Linked DNA regions of Homo sapiens: regions 1 and 2 are each linked to region 3. The links are contacts of gene promoters, found by promoter capture Hi-C in human tissues and cell types (Jung and others, 2019). All regions are on one chromosome and are shown on one strand. Each heading gives the region's core, a stretch centred on a gene start or on the middle of the fragment in contact. The rest is flanking DNA. Distances are from core to core; before and after follow the strand shown.

Region 1 (4,938 bases), core at 1,357-3,856, 220 kb after region 3:
CCGTCTCTACTAAAAATAGAAAAAATTAGCCAGGCGTGGTGGCGGGCGCCTGTAGTCCCAGCTACTCAGGAGGCTGAGGCAGGAGAATGGCTTGAACCCGGGAGGTGGAGCTTGCAGTGAGCTGAGATCATGCCACTGCACTCCAGGCTGGGCGACAGAGTGAGACTCTGTCTCAGAAAAAAAAAAAAAAAAAAAAATTCTTTCAAGGAAGATGTTAACCAAACCATCTCAAAAACAAAAACAAAAAATTCTTTCAAGGAAGGTGTTAACCAAATGGTCACGTCTAAGCTGATGAACTGTCTATATAACTCAGGTACCACCCTAGACTTTAAAGAACATTTCTTCCAAAGCATGAAAAAACATGATACTTTCAATCCTTAAGTCTTACATCAGTTTCCTTTGATTTCTTCAAGGAAGATGCCCCCAGGGTGTGGAGGAACAGCAGGTGTCTTCACTCATACCTTTACAGCAAAGATCCCCAAATTCCTAAACCCTAAGGCTCCAAATCTGTTTCCTAGCTTTAGCAGGCTCCCTAGACACCTCTGCTGGACAGCTCACAGGCTCCTTAAACTCCAAAATGGAATTCATCTCCCCCAAACCTGTTTCTTCTCCCTTGCTCTGTATCCTTGCAAGCGAGAGACCTGGGCGTCACCCTAGACTCCCTTTCCATTCCTAGCACCTTGGGAGTCTTCAAGATCTGTTTATTCGTCTCTGAAGAATTTGCAGGCCCTGCCCTTCCTGCTTGACTTCATTTTCCTGCTTGACTTCACTTGAAAATATGTTCTTCATTATCATTTTAAGATTTAAATGTAATGTTTGTAGAGATAATTCATTAAGAAAATGTGATCCTGGCTGGCGCGGTAGCTCACGCCTGTAATCCCAGCACTTTGGGAGGCTGAGGCAGGTGGATCACCTGAGGTCGGGAGTTCGAGATCAGCCTAACTAATGTGGAGAAACCCCGTCTCTACGAAAAATAAATTAGCTGGGCGCGGTGGTGCATGCCTGTAATCGCAGCTACTCAGGAGGCTGAGGTAGGAGAATTCCTTGAACCTAGGAGGCGGAGGTTGCAACAGTGAGCCGAGATCGTGCCATTGCACTCCACTCTGGGCAACAAGAGCAAAACTCCTTCCTCCCCCCGCCCCCCGCCAAAAGAAAAAGAAAATGTGAACCTATGAAGAAATTTATCCTACCAGCAAATGATAGTTTTTGTTGTTTTACAGTATTAATATTAAAAAAAACCCTGAGATACTTGGAACAAATCTGTAGGAAGTGATTTGCTTTCAACCTAAATGGGCCCATTTTTCTTTTCGTTTTTTTTTTTTTTTTTTTTTTTTTTTTTTGAGACGGAGTCTCGCTCTGTTGCCCAGGCTGGAGTGCAGTGGCGCGATCTCGGCTCACTGCAAGCTCCGCCTCCTGGGTTCAAGTGATTCTCCTGCCTTAGCCTCCTGAGTAGCTGGGACTACAGGTGCCCACCACCACGCCCGGGTAATTTTTTTTTTTTTTTTTGTATTTTTAGTAGAGACGGGGTTTCACCGTGTTAGCCAGGATGGTCTCGATCTTCTGACCTCGTGATCCGCCCACCTCGGCCTCTCAAAGTGCAGGGATTATAGGCGTGAGCCACCGCGCCCGGCCAATGGGCACATTTTTCATATCACTAAAAATTTCTTTTTTATTTTTTGAGACAGGGTGTTACTCTGTCACCCAGGCTGGAGTGCAGTGGCGCAATCTCGGCTCACTACTAAACCTCCGCCTCCCGGGTTCACGCCATTCTCCTGCCTCAGCCTCCGGAGTAGCAGGAATTACAGGCGCAAGCCACCACACCCCACTAATATTTTTGTATGTTTAGTAGAGACGGGGTTTCACTGTTGGCCAAGCTGTTGTCAAACTCCCGAACTCAGCTGATCCGCCGGCCTCGGCCTCCCAAAGTGCTGGGATTACAGGCGTGAGACACCGCGCCCGGCCTCCTACCACTAAAAATTCTTCGGAAGCACTGTTTCAAATCACGCAGAGCACTTAGAGTTTTCCCTTTTCTCAGCTACTGCGCTGTTGGGGGAAGGGGGACCTCAAGTGTTTGCAAAATAACTGTGATAATTACCTTTGTAGATAAATCTCTGAGTATAAGTTTTTGAGGTCAAGGTTCGAAATGGAACAAATTCCTTTCTACAAAGGCCAGGACCCCTTGGCCCTTCCGCCCGGTGCCTGGCTCCCCCTGACATCAGCCTCTTGGTTCGTTTGTGGAAGAGCAGCTCTATTGAGATACAACTCTTGTGATTAATTCATGTAAAATACACGGTTATGTCGGGTCATGTCACAGCAGGGGCGACCATCGCGGGTCCCACGCGCGGCCCCGGGCAGGACCAGCGTCCCGGGCCGGGGGCTGCAGGGCAGGGCAGGGCAGGGCAGGGCAGGGCAGGGCAGGGCAGGGCAGGGCGGGGCGCGGGGCTGGGGCGGGGTCTGCGGGCCGGGGGCGGGGCTGCGGGGGGCGCGGGGCTGGGGCGGGGCCGGGGTCTGCGGGCTGGGGGCGGGGCCGCGGGGGGCGTGGCCGCGGGGGCGCGCGGGGATATCCGGGGGCGGGGGCGCCGGCGCGGCGCATGCGCGCTGCATTGTTTTGACTGAAAATGCCGTCGGTTTCGAAAGCGGCGGCAGCGGCGCTGAGCGGGTCCCCCCCGCAGACTGAGAAGCCGACCCACTACAGGTCAGCGCCCGTCCGGCCTGCGGCCCCCCGCCCGCGCCCGGTGCAGCTCGGAGCCTCCCGCCGGGGCTCGCGCCGCCTCCGCCGCCCCCGCGCCCCCCGGCCTCCGCGCAGCGCCTGGGCTGGGGGGGCCACGACCCTCTGCTCTCGGCGGCCTCCGCCTGAGGTCGGAGCGCGGCGCCCATGGTCTGGGATGGCACCTGGTTCCGGGGTCCACGCGCCTCTGGGGAGGGAGGAACGCCCCGGGGTTGGGGGTTGCGCCTGGGCTCGGGGACCGGGACCCTCTGCTCCGGCTGCCGACCGTGAGGTCACAGCGGGTCGCCCAGGGTCCGGGGTGGCGCTTGGGCTTGGGGACCAGGGTCAGCGCCTGGGCTACGAGGTCGGGTGAGGGTCGCGTCTGGAGTCGGGATGGGGGTGGGCGCAGCGCCTGGGGCCCGCCGGGAATGTGAGTACGGGTCGACCCTGGGTTGAGGCTCCTGAGGCCGGTGGGTCCCGCCGCCCACGAGTCCGAGTCCCTGGAGGTGCTGCCGGAAGCGAGCCGCGGCGCTGTCTGTGTTTGTAGGTACCTGAAGGAGTTCAGGACGGAGCAGTGCCCCCTGTTTTCACAGCACAAGTGCGCGCAGCACCGGCCGTTCACCTGCTTCCACTGGCACTTCCTCAACCAGCGGCGCCGCAGGCCCCTCCGCAGGCGCGACGGCACCTTCAACTACAGCCCCGACGTGTACTGCTCCAAGTACAACGAAGCCACCGGCGTGTGCCCCGACGGCGACGAGTAAGCGGCCGCGAGGGGGCGCCGCTGCCTGGGCGGAGGTGGGGGGCCTCCACCCGGGGATGCGGCCGGGACCCTCAGCGGACGCCTTAGTGTCCATACCTGGCCCCTGCAGAGGGAGTCGTAATTATACGCTGAAATTTTCTAGTGACCAGGGATGCTGGGGCGGCATTTCCTATTCTCAGGCCAGTTCCCGAGGGATTATGTGTGTTTTAGGGGTAACCCTTGTGTGACTCAAACCAATTTTGCTTCACCTCCCACTTTTTTTTGTTTGTTTTTTGAGACGGAGTTTCACTCTTGTTGCTCTGGCTGGAGTGCAATGGCATGATCTCGGCTCACTGCAGCCTCTACCTCCCAGGTTCAAGTGATTCTCCTGCCTCAGCCTCCGGAGTAGCTGGGATTACAGGCATGTGCCACCATGCCCAGCTAATTTTTTATTTTTAGTAGAGACAGGGTTTCTCCATGTTGGTTAGGCTTGTCTCGAACTCCCAACCTCAGGTGATCCACCCACCTCGGCCTCCCAAAGTGCTGGGATGACAGGCATGAGCCACCGTACCCGGCCCCACTTTTTTTTTTTTTTTTTTTTTTTTTTTTTTTTTTTTTTTGAGACAGGGTCTTGCTCTGTCGCTGGGGCTGGAGTGCAATGATAGGATACGGCTCACTGCAGCCACCAACTCCTAGGCTCAAGTGATCTTCCCTTCTCAGCCTCCCAAGTAGCTGGGACTACAGGCTCATGCCATGCCAGCTAATTTTGCATAGTTTTTGTAGGGATGGGGTCTCACTACATTGCCCAGGCTGGTCTTGAACTTCTGGGCTCAAGCAATCCTCCTGCTTCAGCCTCCCAAAGTGCTGGGATTCCAGGTGTGAGCCACTGTGCCTAGCTGTTTCCCACTCTGATTTGACACAGTTCCTGCATGAGAACCAACCTCTGGCCAAGTGCCTTGTTTTGTGTTTCTATAGAGACAGGGTTCTTGCTGTAGCCTGGTCTGGTCTCAACCTCCTGGGCACAGCGATCCTCCCTCCTTGGCCTCCCAAAGTACTGGGATTCCAGGCATGATCCACTGCGCCCGGCCAGGTTTTGAAGCGTTTTGTAGTGGTCGGTTGCTTTCCACACAGAGAGCTTGTTAGAATATTCACGCTGTAGAATATATCTGGGATGTTTCGTCTCTTGATGTTTACGTATTTATTTTAATTTTAAGACAGTAAAGTTTTTATGTGCAGGCTCATTTATGTAGCATCGAGACTGAGTCTCGCTCTGTCACCCAGGTTGGAGTGCAGTGACTTGATCTTGGCTCACGGCAACCTCTGCCTTGTGCAGGTTTAAGTGACCTGCCTCAGCCTCCTGAATAGCTGGGATTACAGGCACCCGCCACCACGCCTAGCTAAGTTTTTGTATTTTTAATAGAGTTGAGGTTTCGCCATGTTGGCGAGGCTGGTCTCGAACTCCTGACCTCAGGTGATTCTCCCTCCTTGGCCT
Region 2 (4,507 bases), core at 1-2,500, 190 kb after region 3:
GGGAAGGCAGGTCTTCCCCTAGCACATGGGGACCCCGGCCTCGAGGGTGACCTCCCTACCCCGCCCCTGCCAGCCACCAAGCGCAGGTGCAGCGGGGGCCAGACTCCTGCCGGCCTCAGAGGACACCTGGCCCAGCACAGGCAGCTAGAAGGGCCGGTGGGCACCGGGGCCGGGAAGCCCCCACCTCACCACCTGAGGGCCCCTGGGAGGCTCCTCTGGCCTGGCTGGGCTGGGTCTGGGGCCGCCACAGGCCCCTCACGGGGCGGCAGAGGCAACTTCAGTGTCCCTGTTAGAGCAACACGGGTCCCTCCGTGGGGGGCTGGGTGCGGCCCCCTGCCGTGTATTTCCTCCCCAGGGAGTGGGGCCTCCCCGGGAGCTGACGCCACCACCCTGCTTAGCCCTCACAGGGCCCCAAGGTGTCCGAGTGTGTTGGGTCTGAACGCGAAATAAAGAAATCCTCTCAGCCCGCCTTTGCCAGCGTCGTCCCTCCCACCCCACCCAGACCACGTCCAACAGCCTGGGACTTTCGGGACCCTGGGGTCGGGGCACCGTGTGGAGTGAGAAAGGCGTGAAAGACAGCGGCTGCGGCCACCCAGGGCACCAGCCACATCCTCTTCCTCGTCCCCGCCCCTCAGCCTCCCTCCTCTGGCTCCTGGCTGGTGGGTCTGGGGGCAAGGCAGAGGCGCTCCAGGTGGAGGGGGGCGGGCCGGGGTGCCCACGCTGGGGTGACGCAAGAAGAAAACTCCCGGGCCTCAGAGTCGGCGCCGGAAACCTAGGTCTGGGTTTCCCTCGTGGTGGTTGTGTACTGAGGACCTGGAAGTGATCATATTTTGGATATATTCGGTTAAATAAAATCAGCGGTTAGGATTCACATCGCTGCTTCTTGCCTTTTAATGGGGCTGCTGAGCAAGATGGGTTCCCGTGGAGCCCGGCTGTGCCCCTCACCCCGATGGCGCTGCCCAGGCCTCGGGCTCCGCTCGGACGTGGGCCTGGCTGTGTCCGGGGTGTCCTGGGGCTCTCGGCCTCCCTGCTCCCAGCGTCCCTCCCGGCGTGCCCAGGCCTCGTCAGGGCCTCCTTCCCCTCCCTCGGCAGCTGAAGAAGTCCCCTTTGCCAGAGGACACGTGTCTGCGCCCTCTCGGGAGTGGGGCCCCTCAGATCCATCCAGAAGCAGGCAGTTGGGGGGCCCTGCGGGAGTGGGAGAGCTGAGGGCTAGAGTTCCATTGGCAGTTGGGCTGTGAAGCCGTGAGGTTCTGGGGAGAGAAGGAAGGTTCTGGAACGGCCCCGCTGCCCCACACCTGCCTCCCTGGGGACCCTGAGAAGGCAGCCAGACGAGGGCAGCAGCTCGTCCCTCAAGGCCCAGAGCTCTCACGGGACTTCCTCTGGCTCCTGACCCCCCTGGCCTGTGCCCAGCTCTGGGCAACCTCAGAGGCCCCAAGGCCCAAGCTACAGCCGAGGGCAGGGTGGCCGGTGCAGCCCAGCAGCCATGTCAGGTGACCAGAGCGGAGGAGCGGGGCCCAGGGAGGGGCTTGCCACAGGTGTGAGGGTGGGGACCGCTCTGCTTCTGACCCCGGGCTCCCTCCAGCTCGCTTGTTCCTGCCGCCCAGTGCTGTGTGTCTTCAGGCAGGGCCCTGGACTTGTCTGAGCCAAGCCCGTCTGGATCCTGTGTGACCCAAGGAGACGCGTTGAGCTCTGGGTGGTGGGCGAGGGTCCTGCGGGGGTTTGGGGCCTTGTTCCCGTAAGCTCCAGTGGGGGCCGGGCCCCAAGGGGCAAGCTCCCAAGATGCCTCCTTGTAGAGTTGGCTGACAGTGGACCCTCAGGGGCATCGGCCCCTTCCCAGCTGAGAGCCGTCACCCTGGAAGACCTGGGGCTCCTCCTGGCAGGAGGCCTGGCCAGCCCCGAGCCCTTGAGCCTGGAGGAGCTCTCGGAGAGGTATGAGTCCAGCCATCCGACATCCACGGCCTCTGTCCCCGAGCAGGACACCGCCAAGCACTGGAACCAGCTGGAGCAGTGGTGAGCCCTGCAGGGGGTGCTGGCGGGGGAGGACCACGTCGCCGCCGCCTCCGCCTCCACGGCGGGCACCGCCAGACTCGCCCACTCTCGCCCCGGCCAGGGTGGTGGAGCTGCAGGCCGAGGTGGCCTGCCTGCGGGAGCACAAGCAGCGCTGTGAGCGCGCCACGCGGAGCCTGCTGCGGGAGCTGCTCCAGGTGCGGGCCCGCGTGCAGCTGCAGGGCTCAGAGCTGAGGCAGTTGCAGCAGGAGGCGCGGCCGGCAGCCCAGGCCCCCGAAAAGGAGGCGCCGGAGGTGAGCGGCTCCCCCACCCACAGGTCGAGCTGCCCCTTTCCTGGGTGTTGGGGGCAGCTGCTTCTGGGCCTGGAGCCCAGCTCACCCCTGCTGCCCAGGCCCAGAGCTCCCAGGGGCCAGTGGTGCCGGAGCTGGGTGGACTCCAGGGGCAGGTGCCAGACCCGGGCCTAGGTCCAGCCCACAGCCTCCTCTTCCTCCTCGCAGTTCTCTGGTCTCCAGAACCAGATGCAGGCCCTGGACAAAAGGTACCCCCCACACACCTAGGGGCACAGGCCCAGGGCGGGGAGGTGGTGGCGAGAAAGCAGCGGCAGGTGTGGTGGGGGGTCCACATCTCCCGCTGGGTGTCGCTGGAGTGGGGGATACACATCCAGGTCCAGCTAGAAAAGGCCGGGTTTGTACGTGCCTGGGCGGCCTTCAGAGGCCCAGGAAAGCCATGGGAGGTGGCCACAGGGGCCCCTTGGCCAGACCCCCAGCCCGCCGAGGCTGCTCAGCCCGCCTGGGCCTCTCGGGAATGGCTTGTTGTGTCCCAGGCTGGTGGAGGTCCGGGAAGCCTTGACCCGGCTCAGGAGGAGGCAGGTGCAACAGGAGGCGGAGAGAAGGGGCGCCGAGCAAGAGGCCGGCCTCAGGTGGGCGCCCACCGCCCGTGGCTGGCTCCGGAGCTTGCGTGGGGTCATTTGAGAGTCCCTGGCTGAGCCAAGACACGGGTCCCCCTGCCGTGTGTCCCCAGTAACCCGGCGGGGCACCGCCCTCGGTGCCAAGCGTGCTGGGAAGCCTGGGCCCGCTGCGGACCCTCTGTGGGGAAGAGACTCGCAGCAGCCCTTCCCTGCCACCGGTGCTGTGTTTCCCATTCCTCTGTTTTCTGGTGGGGCAGGGGGCGGGGGTCGTACACCTCCTGCCTGGCCAGCCTGTGGGTCAGCCTCACCCTGCTGGGCCCTCCGGCCAGCTGGGCTGGTGTGACCACAGCCGACTTCTCTAGACTGGCCAAGCTGACCGACTTGCTGCAGCAGGAGGAGCAGGGCCGGGAGGTGGCCTGCGGCGCCCTGCAGAAGAACCAAGAGGACAGCAGCCGGAGGGTGGACCTGGAGGTGGCCAGAATGCAGGTACCACCAGGCCCAGGCTTCAGGGGGGCCGCCCAGAGGGCCGAGGAGGAGACCCTAACCCTCTCGGCCTGTGCCATCCGATACAGCGGCCGTTCACCATGTATCTGTGTCCACTGAAATCAGCTATAGTTGTAGACAATGTAAAACTCAATTCCTCAGCCGCACATGCCCCATTTCAAAAGTTCAGGTTGTTTGGGCACGGTGGCTCACGCCTGTAATCCCAGCACTTTGGGAGGCTGAGGCGGGCAGATCACAAGGTCAGGAGTTCAAGACCAGCCTGGCCAACATGGTGAAACCCCATCTCTACTAAAAATACAAAAAACTAGCCAGGTGTGGTGGCGGGCACCTGTAGCCTCAGCTACTGAGGAGGCTGAGGCAGGAGGATTGCTTGAATCCAGCAGGAGGAGGTCACAGTGAGCTGAGATCGCGCCACTCCAGCCTGGTGACAGAGTGAGACTCCATTTCAAAAAACAAAACAAAACAAAAAAACAAAAGCTCAGGCCACGTGCAGTGGCACACGCCTGTAAATCCCAGCACTTTTGGGAGGCCGAGGCGGGAGGATCGCTTGAGCCTGGGAAGTCAAGACCAGCCTGGGCAACACAGCGAGACCTCATCTCAAAAAAAAGCTCAGTTGCCACGTGGGGCCGGCAGCTGCAGATCTGGGCGCTCTTCGTCCCAGGAAGCTGCCTGTGTCCTGCCGCCTCCACCCCTCCCCACACAGCCAGCGCCTGCCCGGGTCCACAGATCGCAGCCCCGAAGCCCCTTCCACGGCCACTCTCGGGCTCCACCTTTCCCTGCACACAAAGCGGAGTTCACCTTCCTCGAGGACACGAGTTCCTAGAAGCCAGGGTCCCACCCACGGGGCTGGAGTGGCTCCCCCTCCTGCTGTGGCCTCAGCAGGGGCCTCCGCTGTGGGTGGGGAGGGAACGGGCAGCTGCACATTTCAGCAGCCCGGGTCTGAGCTCCACAAATAGAGACCGGGGACTGCAGCCAGCTCCCGTGCGCATCAGGCAGTACGCTGGGTGAGGGGCCAGGACTGCCGGGGCACCCAGCTGCCACCCACATAGCTCCACTGCCCGGAGCCGGCAGCCTCCCTCTCACTGCCCT
Region 3 (5,041 bases), core at 1,320-3,819:
GGTGTGAGAGCCACACCAGGCTCACGTGGTTTCTTGGATCTCCTCCCTGTACCTTTGTCATGCAAGCTGTCAACCACAGGGGACACTGGGCAGAGTGTATAGAACACGGTGCTGTGTCTGCGATTTTCAAAATAAAAAGTTAAACCAAAGTGGGGCGTTAGAAATTTACCCCAATAGGCAGAGGAAATGTCCCCTGGAGGAGAAAACACAACACTCAGAACAGCTGGTACTCGTGAAGGTGGCAGATGTGGCCAGCACTAAACCTGTCATCCATCTCTGCACACAGGTGAGGCCAGCAGCCCTGAAACCTGGATGCTGCCTTCCTGCCTCACCTGTGCCCTCCCAGGACAGTGGATCTGCATAGCCCGGGCCCAGGCGGGAGGAGGAGCCAAGGACAGGTGCTCACCCCTGCCTGAGGCCCATTCTCCTTCCTCAGTAAGAGGCCCTGTTTTTTTTTTTTTTCTTTTCTTGGAGACAGGGTCTCACTCTCTCGCCCAGACTGGAGTGCAGTGGCATGATCTCGGCTCACCGCAACCTCTGCCTCCCAGGCTCAAGAGATTCTCCTGCCTCAGCCTCCCAAGTAGCTGAGATTACAGGTGCACACCATTATGGCCTGGCTAATTTTTGTATTTTTAGTAGAGACAGGGTTTCACCATGTGGGCCAGGCTGGTCTCGAACTCCTGACCTCAAATGATCTACCTGTCTCAACCTCCCAAAGTGCTGGGATTACAGGCATGAGCCACCGTGCCCAGCCAAGGCCCCTGTTTTATTTGGGAGGCAAACAGGCTGAGACATGGACAGCTGGTCATGGCTACACCACTGGAAGTAGTGGAGACTTCCAGAAGCCTCCTTAAAGAGCCTGATTTGGGCAGGAGGGTTCCCCTTTTCCCACCCCTCTTTCCTCAAGAGCCACTGCCTGGAGCTGTCACCAAGGACAGCCAAGCACAAGAATGGGAGGCACCTGGGTCCTGCCTGCCCTGGGCGCCAGCCTCTAGGCGTCTCTGCCACGAGACAGTGAATTCTGAGGCGCTTGGGCCACTGCTATTTTGCATTTTGTTACTGTATTACACCAGACCTAATCCTGCTAGGGAAACCAAGTGACAACACAGTCCAGGCCCCTTTGGGTCACTTCACAGAGCAGGGGTGAAGGCCATTTGTCCCCTCTACTCTCACAATTGTCCTCTCTAGTTCTCTCCTCAGAGACCTGTTCTCAAGGCCCTAAGACTGGTAAATGGAGAAGCAGGCTTTCAAGATATGAGGAGGATTCTGGACCATGGGTCTCGGACACGGCTAAGCACAGGCCAACTGCTCTCAAAGGCTCTTCTGAGAGAAAGACCTAAGACCTAAGGGCTCATCAGACTTTCTTTTTTTCTTTCTTTCTTTTTTTTTTTTTGAGACAGAGTTTCGCTCTTGTTGCCCAGGCTGGAGTGCGGTGACGCGATCTCAGCTCACTGCAACCTCCGCCTCCCAGGTTCAAGGGATTCTCCTGCCTCAGCCTCCCAAGTAGCTGGGATTACAGGCATGCGCCACCACGCCCTGCTAATGTTTGTATTTTTAGTAGAGACGGGGTTTCACCACGTTAGTCAGGCTGGTCTCAAACTCTTGACCTCAGGTGATCCGCCCACCTCGGCCTCCCAAAATGTTGGGATTACAGGCGTGAGCCACCACGCCTGGCCTCATCAGACTTTCTTAAAGGAGCCCATGACTCGGAAAGCTTTAAGATCCACTATTCAGTAGACAAGCAAAATGTGGCCATCCACCCAAAGGAAAATAATCCAGCCATACAAAGGACTGGCACACGCTACAACACAGACAAACCCTGAAACCTGACGCTGAGTGAAGGAAACCAGGCACAGAAGGACACATAGCACGTGATCCCATTTCTATGAAACATCCAGAGTAGAACGATCCATAGAGACAGGAGGTAGTAAACTGAGGGCTCCCAGCACCGGGGCACAGGGTTTCCTCCTGGGCAATGGACATATTCTGCAACTAGAGAGTGGCAATGGCTGCATAACCTTGTAAGTACATTAAGAACCACTAAGTTGTATGCTTTAAAAGGGTGAATAATATCCCCATTTCTAAAATATATATTTTAAAGTCCACTATTTGAAATGGCAAAAAGAAAAAAACCCACAACCCAGAAACAAGAAAGTAGCACCAAGAGCAAGACACTGCAGACAAGGGACCCCAGGGGAGGTGGGACCCTGGGACGAAGCAGGGCTTCCGGGAGGTGTCCCTGATGCCCCGCCTGGCCCCACGGCCTCCTAGGTGGCACCTCATGTTTTATTACACACTCAGGGACAGGAACCAAGCTCACCTCATCCAACTTTGAGTTCGTGAAGCAAAATCTCCACTGAGCAATGGACAGCAGCAAGGAAACGCAGATGTGCATGGAAACCACGGGAGATTAGTAAGACGAACACACACGCAAGGCCCCCAAGCTGGGGGCGGAGTCAGTCCCTTCCACGCTCGCTTGCCACCACTCTGTGTCTCACGCCACAAGATGAGTCAGACAAACCCATGATAAAGTGCACACGGTGTGCTCTTCAAAACTCCAAAGCACAGGCCAGGCGTGGTGGCTCACGCCTGTAATCCTTGCACTTTGGGAGGCCGAGGCAGGTGGATTTCCTGAGCTCAGGAGTTCAAGACCAGCTTGGCAACATAGTGAAACCTCATCTCTCCTAAAAAATATAAAATTAGCTGGGTGTGGTGGTGCACACCTGTAATCCCAGCTACTCGGGAGGCTGAGGCATGAGAATCGCTTGAAACTGGGAGATGGAGGTTACAGTGAGCTGAGAGTGCGCCATGGCACTCTAGCCTGGGCAACAGAGCAAGACTCTGGCTCAAAAAACAAAACAAAACAAAACTCCAAAGCACGCCAAAAATACATGTAACGTGAAAAAGTTGCCACTCTGTTTGATGCGCAATGACAGTCCATGGGGCCAGTCACTTCGCAGTGTCCTAGTGGCCTCCAGCCTCATGCTCCTGTTGGGCAAGTCAGCATCGGGTGCCCCAATGCCGCTGCCCGCTGGCACGGAGGCAGACAGCCCTGCTGAAGAGACAGTCAGGGCCATCAGAGAACCCGGGAGAACACGGGAGAACGGTGAGCTCAACAGGAAGAAGGCACATCATGTGGGGTCACACCAAAGATGCACGAACAGGAGACACCAAGGCTGTAGGAGCCTGCTGTGCCAGGTCAGGAAGAGAGGGAAGCACAGGGGCCCACACGGAGAAGGGAAAAGGACCTGTGTTGGGTGTGACCCCCCACCGAGAGGTGTGAGGGAGCATTTACCCTTCACCCTAGATGGACAGAAGGGCCAAAGAGGAATGAGGCCTCCTCGCACCAGCAAGTTTAGGATTAGGAGGTTGTTTAACAGGGAAAGGTGACACAATTAGAAAAGAAATGTTTGCTTTGACTGCCTTCTGAAATTGACATGGGAGAGAGCCTGGGTTGGCAAGTAGAATGTGCATTTGAACCTCAGAAGAGGAGATAAGTCTACGCCAGGAGCCTGAGGGTCCAAAGACGCTTCCCACCCTGCCCGCAGATGGTTCAAGCAAAGCACACTAGACCGAAGCTCCTGGAATCCCATCCCTCTCTCTATACCTCATCTACTAAACAGCTGCCCAGTCCCCTCCGCTGCTGGCCAGCTTCCCCCATAGAGAGCTTTTCAAGACCAGCCACAGTGGATGGCAGATCTGCTCTCATGGACTGACTTTCTTTCTTTTTTTTTTTTTGAGACGGAGTCTTGCTCTGTGGCCAAGCTGGAGTGCAGTGGTGCAATTCTCCTGCCTCAGCCTCCCGAGTAGCTGGGAGTACAGGTGTGCACCACCATGCCCAGCTAATTTTTGTATTTTTAGTAGAGATGCGGTTTCACCATGTTGGCCAGGATGGTCTTGATCTCTTGACCTCGTGATCCGCCCGCCTCTGCCTCCCAAAGTGCTGATTACAGGCATGAGCCACCGCGCGCAGCCTGGACTGTCTTTCAAAAAGGCACTAATGAACGATGCAAAGGACAGACGACACAGGAAGAGGCCGACAATGAAAAGTCGGTGCTGCGTGCCACTCTGGAAGGCACAAGGCCACTCACCACAACCTGACATTAACCACAACAGCCTTGGATGACGGGATCTGACCAGTGCTGAGATTTCAAATAAACAAGTGAGCTGAACATGAGAAGACCAGCACAGGCATCAAATATAGGACAAAACGGAACTGATGTGCTATAAATAGGTGAAGTCAGCAGAAAATCTTACATGAATGGTCACGTGGATACCAAAAGCAAACAAACAAAACCGCATCGGCGGCAGACCCGAATCAAGGGGTACCCCTAATGTGCAGAGACCAACAGCCGTTTCCATGGATCTCCAGAAACGGTGACAATCTCCCAGTGGAGGTTCTTCAGTGGAGAAGCTAGCTGCGTGGTGGGCAGGGGGTGTCTGCGGCCCTCAGGGCTCTGCCCAGTCACACAGGGGAGCTGGGTCCTGGCTCTTCCCAAAGCTCCGGGCAAAGCTGATGCACCATGGTCAAGATGCCATAACCCACCCAGAGGACACCACAGGAATGGCCAAGGCGAAGGACTTTAGGTCACCACGAGGCACAGGCAAGGGCACAAAGAGTGGCAGTGTGGCCACAGTCCAGGTACCCTGGGTCAGAATGTGAGACATCTGAAAGAAGGCTCAGAAGGCAGAGGGGTGCTCTGGGGGTACATCTGGAAGGACCAAGCTGTGTGTGAAGCTACAGGAATGAAGAGCAGGGCCCAGCACAGGTGCGCTGCTGGAGAGGTAGTTCTCATAGGCGGAGGCAGGAGGCAGCTAAGACTCCCAAGGACAGAGATGGTGATGGACAAAGCATCATCCGGAGAAGCCACCAGTAGCCAAAGGGTGCTCTGAGCCAGAAGCCAGAATTCTACCTGGGGATGACTTGGTCCCGTGACTGAACGAGGGCCGACGCAGACCTGGGTCCCAGTGTAGAGGGCGAGAGGCCTGGGAAGGCTGGCCGTCCCCCAGGAAGACCAGCGCCAGGCACGGTGCCTGCGGC

Evidence for each region. Contacts are between HindIII fragments. The study calls those that stand out against the background at their distance.
Region 1: the fragment with the promoter of UNKL here is called in contact with a fragment that was not itself captured in region 3 in 1 of the 25 tissues and cell types used here (dorsolateral prefrontal cortex).
Region 2: a contact is called between the fragment with the promoter of CCDC154 here and a fragment that was not itself captured in region 3, in 3 of the 25 tissues and cell types used here (dorsolateral prefrontal cortex, lymphoblastoid cells and stomach).

Annotation. Positions count from the first base shown.
Region 1 is chr16:1,412,372-1,417,309 of GRCh38, reverse strand. UNKL (unk like zinc finger) reads left to right here and starts at 2,606. Exons shown (of 15, transcript NM_001372107.1): 1 at 2,606-2,695; 2 at 3,255-3,464. The coding sequence starts at 2,619. RefSeq lists enhancers at 1,407-1,980, 1,981-2,555, 2,556-3,130, 3,131-3,705 and silencers at 2,202-2,271, 2,322-2,441, 2,982-3,031, 3,462-3,611. The HindIII fragment of the contact is 21,408 bases long and covers 1-4,938 here.
Region 2 is chr16:1,441,299-1,445,805 of GRCh38, reverse strand. It overlaps CCDC154 (coiled-coil domain containing 154), which reads left to right and starts at 1,250. Exons shown (of 17, transcript NM_001143980.3): 1 at 1,250-1,490; 2 at 1,794-2,010; 3 at 2,111-2,300; 4 at 2,505-2,545; 5 at 2,831-2,926; 6 at 3,277-3,400. The coding sequence starts at 1,484. CLCN7 (chloride voltage-gated channel 7) reads left to right here. Exons shown (of 25, transcript NM_001287.6): 25 at 1-871. The HindIII fragment of the contact is 26,646 bases long and covers 1-4,507 here.
Region 3 is chr16:1,632,724-1,637,764 of GRCh38, reverse strand. The region is part of intron 4 of CRAMP1 (cramped chromatin regulator 1); the gene reads right to left. Among named protein-coding and RNA genes, the nearest start is that of CRAMP1, 23 kb to the right of the region's middle. The HindIII fragment of the contact is 4,859 bases long and covers 140-4,998 here.